Linked DNA regions of Homo sapiens: region 2 is linked to region 1. The links are contacts of gene promoters, found by promoter capture Hi-C in blood cells and fetal thymus (Javierre and others, 2016). All regions are on one chromosome and are shown on one strand. Each heading gives the region's core, a stretch centred on a gene start or on the middle of the fragment in contact. The rest is flanking DNA. Distances are from core to core; before and after follow the strand shown. Region 1 holds the start of ADAMTS18 (ADAM metallopeptidase with thrombospondin type 1 motif 18). Region 2 overlaps VAT1L (vesicle amine transport 1 like).

Region 1 (3,986 bases), core at 1,172-3,671:
AGGCACAGAATGGGAAACTACTTTGGAAAGTGTTTAGAAAGCTGTTGAATAATGACGAGGTATGTTTGAGTCACTTGGGTCCCCAGTTACTGGAGGAGGAAAAGGAAGAGAAATTTCTCTTTTCCCTAAACAGTCAACAACCTTCCCCCTCCTCCAATAAAAAAAAAAAAACTAAGGAATAGTGGAGCCCCTGTAGCTAGCAAAGATCAATGAGTGATGGCCTAATTAGGCTCACATTAAAAAAGAATTCTCCACAATAGACAATAATTTTCTTCTGTTTATGAACCATCTGTGACTTATTCCTTGGGCAGCTTTCATTTTTATATTCTTTATGTCCTCCCACTCCCATTTTTCTTCTTGACTCCCTCCTTTAACTAAAAATGCTGTATAATTGACATACATATTTTACAATAATGGGGGGAAAAGTTTTTCCCCTCTCTTAACCTTGAAAATCTGAGCCAGACATACAATATTTTTCTTCTCTTAAAAATCTGATACATTGCTTTAAAGGGATGTGGCTCTTGATTATGTGCAATTTCTTAGAGAAAGTCTACCTTCTCCTTCTGTCAAACTAAAACTTAACTATGAAAAAGATTCCTGACATATGCAGGAAGTCTGTGTCTCACCTTCTTGTCCCAAATCATCTGAAACTCTGCCTGCTCTTACTTGGAAGGCTCTGTAGGAACGTTATCCAGCCAGCCTTCTATGGAACCAGCCATCAAACGGCCCCAGACACCTGCTACCAGCTTGTTTCCAAGGGGAGAATAACAGGCTGTCGGTTACATTCGGTTCTTGATGGAAGAAGGGCAGTCAGTGTCCCCTGTAAAGAGTGATCTCTGATTGACCACTTCAGGAGGTGAGTAAGGGTGAGGTCCTTACAAGGTTGTGGCTGGGTCGGACGTGGCCTCCAGCCATCTGATCCTGATATAAGAATGAGGGGTGGTTTTAGAAACTGCAGCCTCTCTGTTTGGACAAAAGGTGAATCCCTTCTCCATGACTCCATCCTGCCCCACTCCCCATTCCCCTGACAAGAAAAGGAGATAACCTTGCAAAACTAAAAATTACAGAATTCTAAAGAATCCAGGTTGAGCTGTAAGGTTTTCCTAGACACCTTGCGTCAGGAATCAGCTGTTCTCCTGTAGCTGATGGGAAACAATCAAAACAAGGATTTCCCTCTGGGCTCCACTGGGAAGTTAATAAATGTCAGAAGTGAGGGATTTTCTGGAAGTTTGTGGCTGGCGAACGTCAGAAAAGATAGATAAAGGACTCAGAGACCTGAAGTCACCTGCTTTCCTCTCTCTAAAAGCAGCCTTAGACATCCGTAAAACAAGGGAAGCAGAAATGAAAAAAAAAGAAGAGATAGAAAAGGAACAGAAGTCGAGAGAAAAATGAGGAAAGATGGAGAGAGGAAAGAGGCTCACATTCTTTCATCTCCCACTAAGAATTAGCTTCCCCCAACAAGAGTTAGGAGAGGGAGGAAATAAGTAATTCCTTAGTTAATGTCCACTTCCCTTCGAATTTCTCACTGCAGTTAGGATTTTTTTTTTTTTCTTGTTCTTCTTAACAAGCCACCTGTGAAGGAGGGAGAGTATTTGCTTTTATGTGACTTGCAGCTCGGGGCGTTGATTCTTTTGATAAGTTCAGTCCTTGCCAACCTTCCCCCCTCTCCAAACAGGAACCATTTCCAAGACAGCGCACACCTGCCAGGTTAGGGGGTGCGCTTTTCCATCTTTTCTCTCTTTGGGGGAAGGAAGGGTCAAAGTGCTGCGAAAGGCCCTTCTTGGGGATGGGGGGCAAATACGAACCATCATTTAATCCGCTGGCGCCGCTGCTGCTGTCACTGGCTAAGGCCGCGGCGACCGACGCACAGCAGAGGCAGCACAGCTGGAGCGCCTGCAAGAGAAAAGGTGACATCGCGCGTGAGGGGCGCGGCGGGGCTGGCGTCGGGCGCCCCCTGCCACCCGCTCTCGGAGCTCCGCTCGGCGGCACCTGCCTTGGCCACGCGCCCCAGTCCCGCCAGGCCCCTCGGCGGGCCCGAACCCGCAGCCGGGAAGGCACACGCGAGCAGGAGGGCGCACTCCATGGTCAGGTGCGGACGCGGCGGCTGCGGGTGGCCAGACGCGGCAGGCGGAGCGCACGGGCGGCGCGCATTCTTTCCGCGGCCCCGGAGCTCGGCGCCCCAGGTGCGGCTCCAGGTGAGAGCCGCCGCCGTTCACATCGCAGCGGGGGCGCGCTGGGACCTCCCCTCCTCCGGCCGCCTGCGCGCCCTCCCTTCTCCCGGCGCGGGCCTGCCGAGCTGCAGTTTGCGGCACCCCAGAGGGTACGGGGGGCTCCCTGGGCCGGGACTGGAGCGCAAACGGTTGGGAGACTGTCGGTGTCTGCCCGCCCGTCTGTGCGTCTGTCTGTGTCGGTGTGAGCGTCTGAGGCGATGGGGAAGACAGCGCCAGCTGGCTCCCCCAGCGCGCCGGAGCCGAGCGCCCGCCTCTCCACCGCGCGGTGATTGGCGACCAGCGGCTCCCGGGCTCGTCCGAGCCCCCGGGCTGGTGCAAGGGCGTGGGATTCCCGGCTCCAGCTCTGAGGGAGGGGGCGAAGGGGGCGGGGAGGCTGGGTGGGAGTGATAGGGAGGGAGGGACCGACCGCCATGAGAAGGAGGGGAGCGCCCAGGGTCAGGCTTGGAAAACGTAATTTAAGCGCACTGGGAGATGAGTTCGGAAGACGAAAGGCTCAGGTGAGTGGCGCGACTTTTTCGCTGCCTGTGCAGACTTCTCATTTTCAACTCTTCTGGCAAAGAGTCAAGATAGCGTCCTCAACACCTCCTAAGTGCTGGGAGCTATCCCCTGCTGTATCGCATTTGCCTCAGGCCCTACCTTTTTCAGGTGGGAATTATTAATTCCTTGATAAAGATGAGGAAAAGGAGGCTCAGATGCGCACAAGCTGACCTAGCTTCCCAGAGTCAGCAAATCTGAGGCAGCCGGGAGGACCAGAACAATGAGCTGTCACTGTCTGCAGCATGTAAAAACTCATGGCACGCGGGGGCCTCCCTCTTCTCCCGGATCTCTCTCTCTCTTCTTGACGTGACCGTGCTTCCCACTCTTCGAGATTGAATCTTGGCCCCAGATACCCAAACCCACAGAAATCAGTTATAACAAACAGCGCACGCCATCACTAGGAATGTGCATCCAGTTTGCTGTGTGCCTGTTCGTTTACTCAAGACATTTATTTGATCCTTTGATCCCTGTTTGCAGAGGTGAACAAAATACAGTCTCACGGGCCAGTGGAAACGAATCTGATTGGATAGCTCGACAACGGTAATAGAAGCAAAATGAACACAAATACTAAAAAGGAAAAGAATAGTCTCCTAAATTAGATGGCAGCAGAATCTAATTTAGATGGGATAAGATGTGTGTGTGTGTGTGTGTGTGTGTGTGTGTGTGTGGGTGTATATATACACACACACATATATATACACACACACACGCATACATACACGTGCAAGGCATCTGTTAGGAGCTGACACTTAAAATAAGGCCAGAGAGAGTGGATCGGTTTTATAAGGGAAGAGGGGAGTAGGATCTTGCATGTTAGGACAGGGGGCACAGCATAAGTGAAGGTCTCAAGGTAGTTAAGTGATTGCCACGTGAAAAGTGTTACAGGCCAGAGGAAGAAGCAAACACAGCAGTTGCTGGGTCAGCTGGACCTTGTAAGCTGGGGCGAAGCATGTTGGAAACCATTAGATTTAAATGAATGTGGGTTTGTGTATGTGTAGGAGGCAACATCATATCCAATAATAAAAAAATGTGAACCATTTTTTGAGCGAGTGTAGGGATTGGACGAGCTGAGGCAGGGTCAGAGAGAAACAAACCACGCAGCTGTTGCTGGCATGAAGGGGTACAATGACAGTGTCTTGCTTGGACCAGGGTAGTGGTAGTGGAAGTAGATGTATTACTCTGCTCAGTCCTGTGGGTACTGAAGTAGTTAACATGAGG
Region 2 (3,986 bases), core at 1,405-3,904, 540 kb after region 1:
TGTAAAACACCCTCTTGTTAAGTGACTGATACAACATGGATATAACTTATTAAATACTTACTAAGTTCCAGGGCTGTTCAAAGCAGATGAGAGGGCAACGAGAGGGAGGGGAGGGAGTGACTTGGATCCTGAGTCTCCTGTACACCTCTTTGTAGTCTTTAAACATATGACCAAGTCTCTTTCAGTCCCATTTGGAGAAGGCAGACAGGCTCTAGGCCCATCCTGGAAGCTTATGGCTTTCAAGAAAATAGTTGGCACCAATTTCCCACCCTGGGATGCTCCTGTGTCCATCACACATGAGTTGCTCCCAAGTCCTCGGGCTGATAGGAAGGCCTGTCTTACCAAGGGAGGATTCTTACTGGAGCAGATGCTGAAAAATCCACCTTTCAGGGTAAAGGCACAGGATCTGCCTGTGCCACACACAATGTCATTGTCCTTGTTTCTGAACCTCCTGAAGCCTTCTTTTTTGAAATGCAGTCTCACTCTGTCACCCAGGCTTGAGGGCAATGGCACAATCTCGGCTCATTGCAACCTCTGCCTCCTGGGTTCAAGCGATCCTCCCACCTCAGTCTCCTGAGTAGCTGGAATTACAGGCACATGCCACCACACCCAGCTAATTTTTTTTTTATTATTTTTAGTAGAGACAGGGTTTCACCATGTTGGCCAGGCTGGTTTTGAACTCCTGACCCCAAGTGACCCACCTGCCTTGGCCTCCCAAAGAGCTGGGATTATAGACATGAGACACTGTACCGGGCCCCCTTGAAGGCTTTTATCCCTGGGACCTAAAGAAACAAAAAGACAGTAGAGAATGGGTAATCAGAGCAACCACGTGGTGGAAAAGAGGCTACGGCCTATCTAGATGGAAAAGCAGACTTGAAGGAAAGGGAGCATGTCTTGAGGTTAAACAGAAGACATGGAGATGCAGGAGGGATCCAGTGAGGTCATTTTAGGGTTAGCACCTGACAGAAGAGGAAACAACTCAAGCTCCAGGCTCCACAGGATGTGTCGCTGTCCGCTCAGCAGGTGCTGGAGGAGGGGACAGAGGCGCCTGCAGAGGTGCTTTCTCCTACTGGAATGACCACTTTTTTTTTTTTTTTTTTTTTTTTTTTTTTTTTTAAAGACAGTCTCATTCTGTCACCCAGGCTGGAGTGCAGTGGTGTGATCTCAGCTCACTGCAACCTTCGCCTTCCGGGTTCAAGTAATTCTCATGCCACAGCCTCTAGAATAGCTGGGATTAGAGGTGCTCACCACACCACACCTGGCTAATTTTTGTATTTTTAGTAGAGATGGGGTTTCACCATGTTGGCCAGGTTGTTCTTGAAATCCTGACCTCAGGTGATCTGCCCGCCTTGGCCTCCCAATGTGCTGGGATTACAGGCGTGAGCCACCGCGCCCGGCCATGACCAGTCTCAGCCCTCACTCAGCCCCGAATCTGCCCAGCCAGCATGCTGCAGGACACACACTGCTCCTCTAGAATAGTCTGGGCTCTAAGGCGTGTGGGCAGCACCCAGGCAGGGGAAGTCGACTGCTACTGGCAGCTCCAGAAGTAAATTTCCTGGGAAACACTAAGAGTGGAGTCTCTCCTGCTGAAAGCCTCCTCTTAATGAGGCTGGACCAAAGCAAAGTCGAAACTCATCCTATGATGTGTCATGAGGTCAGAGCAGAGGCAGAACTGCTGCCTCCAGACCCCACAGTACCAGCGGGCAGCCCTGCCCCAGTCCTGGCCATCTGACCAGTGCCCCAGAGAATAGAGGTGGCCTTTCCTGAAGGCTACTGACCTCTGCTGCCCTTATGGATTCTGTGTTCACATCACCTCAGGGTCTCCCTTTCCACTGCTGTAGAACAGAACTAACAACAATAATTACTACTATTGCTGCTACTTCAAAGAGCCATAGAGAAGATTAAAAGAACCAATGTCTGCGAGCCAATTGGCATATTGGTGACTATGTATTATAATATACACTACTAAGGAACAGCTTAGCTGGTTAGTTCTTCATTATCCTAAAACACTTGTTGCATATGTACCTAGTGGTAGGGAAGAAAACTGCAGAGACATGGTCCTCTCCCGTGGTGTCTACCGTTTGGCAGGGGCAGATGGACATTGGCCAATGAGCCATTCATATAAATGGGACATTGCAGCTCTTGATCAGTGCTACAAAGAAGAGGTATTTGGGCCATGAAAGCTCATAATAGGGAGATTGTTCCAGTTAGGGAATTCTGCAAAGGCTTCCTTGAGGAAGCAGGATGAGCCCTAAAGGAAACATAGGTATGGACTGGATGAACTGGGCAGAGGGGGTAGAGGAATGACATTCCAGGGAGAAGGCACTGCACATGGTGTGGCCAAGGGGGAGAACCCAGCTTCAGGTGAGACAACATGGGGAGAGCTGAGATTCAGGGGCCAAATTCCTGTTTGTCAGAATAAGCCATGAAGCAGCCAAGGACTCAAGTGTGGGAGATCTGGGGCCCAATCTAGATCAGGGGATAAGAACAGAAAAGAAATCTGAGGCACAGATCATGTAGGGGATGTTAATGGACAGAACTAGTTTGTTCTGAGTCTCTGTCATATGCTCAGCCCTTTGCTAGACTCTTTAGATACATTACTCCATTTTCTTTCACCTGGTTCTTAAAACAAATTTATAAGGTAGGTGGATTTATCGCCACTGTAATGATGGCGGAAATGAAGACCCAGAGGGGTAATCATAACTATGCCAGGTACCAGTGATTAACAAAAGAAAAGGAGTCAGGCAAAATCCCTGTCTTCCCAGAAACTATATTCCAGTTGGGGGAAGAGAGACCAAAAAGCAGATCAATACACCTTTGTTCTGGTTGTTGTGTCTGCTCTTCTTAAGTGACAGCATCAAGACTTCAACCCTGGGGACTCTGTGCAGCTGATGCTCTCAATACCCCTCACACCTCCCCTTGGCATTCGGGTCCCCTGCGCTCCAGGGGCACCTCTTGTGGGCACCTGCCCCTCTCTGCCTGAGAGCTAACTCTTGTCACCAGAGCATGCTTGAGTTTTGCACAGAAACTGCGTGGGGTGCAGGGAGATAACTCACCTCCCCTGAGAGCAGCCCTTAGCCATAACATGGCTTCCTCCTCCCTCAGAAGAGACAGCTCTAAGATGTGTCCCCCAGGGTCTCTCAGAGGTCCCCAGCAGGACTGAGTCCCACTGCCCACACAGGAACCAACTTACTAACATACCCTGCATTGGATTCTTCCCCTTTTTGGTCTCATTTCTTCACTCCCCTGCTACTGCTTCCTGGGATCATCTCCTAAATTCCAGATACTGGTATTCAAATCCTTATCTCAGCACCGTCTCTCAGGGTGCCCAACATATGACAGCTAATCCTGCATTGCCTTCCAGGGAAACAAGCAACCCTAGTTCCTAGCCCCCAAGAAGTCCTCCCATAGGACTCTGTCAGATGCTCAGAGATGACGAGGCTGGGTTGCACAACCCTCAATAACATCCTCTTTTGAATTACAGATGGCCAATGACAGCACAGAGACCAGTGAAGCAGGGGAAGAGGAGGAGGACCACGAGGGAGACAGCGAGAACAAGGAGCGGATGCCCTTTATCCAGTAACTGAGGACCCAGGTGGGAGAATGTGAAGGATGGTTTGGAAGATGAGGACCCGGCTGAGAAAACTCTTCTGTGCCCCAGTGAACAAATGCTGTAGTCCAGTGCGTGTCGTGTTTGTCTGCAGTCAGCTGAGCTAAAAAGCTGTTGATCACTGTTGTTTTTTGAAGTGCCAATCCCATGCCATGCAGTATTATGTCCCTCTCCTATCTGTGTATTACACATTCCCCTCTCCCCTGTATCAAAACCATCCATCTGTGGGTTCTTCTTGACAGTTCTAGAACAGCCTTGCAAATTAATACAAGTCCCAGGCCCAATGCCTAAGAGACCAGACGTGGGCAAAGACAAGTTTGGATGGAAAGGTGTTATCACAGAGCCCTGTCCAGCTCCTAGAATTCCTCAGGCCAGT

What was found. Contacts are between HindIII fragments. The CHiCAGO score rates a contact against its expected background, and 5 or more counts as called.
Region 2: a fragment that was not itself captured here is called in contact with the fragment with the promoter of ADAMTS18 in region 1 in 1 of 17 cell types (endothelial precursors); the score reaches 8.3 in endothelial precursors.

Annotation. Positions count from the first base shown.
Region 1 is chr16:77,432,613-77,436,598 of GRCh38, forward strand. It overlaps ADAMTS18 (ADAM metallopeptidase with thrombospondin type 1 motif 18), which reads right to left and starts at 2,422. Exons shown (of 23, transcript NM_199355.4): 1 at 1,994-2,422; 2 at 1,806-1,893. The coding sequence starts at 2,083. RefSeq lists an enhancer at 2,118-2,618. The HindIII fragment of the contact is 7,514 bases long and covers 1-3,986 here.
Region 2 is chr16:77,974,113-77,978,098 of GRCh38, forward strand. VAT1L (vesicle amine transport 1 like) reads left to right here. Exons shown (of 9, transcript NM_020927.3): 9 at 3,485-3,986. The coding sequence ends at 3,583. Among named protein-coding and RNA genes, the nearest start is that of CLEC3A, 46 kb to the right of the region's middle. The HindIII fragment of the contact is 4,854 bases long and covers 228-3,986 here.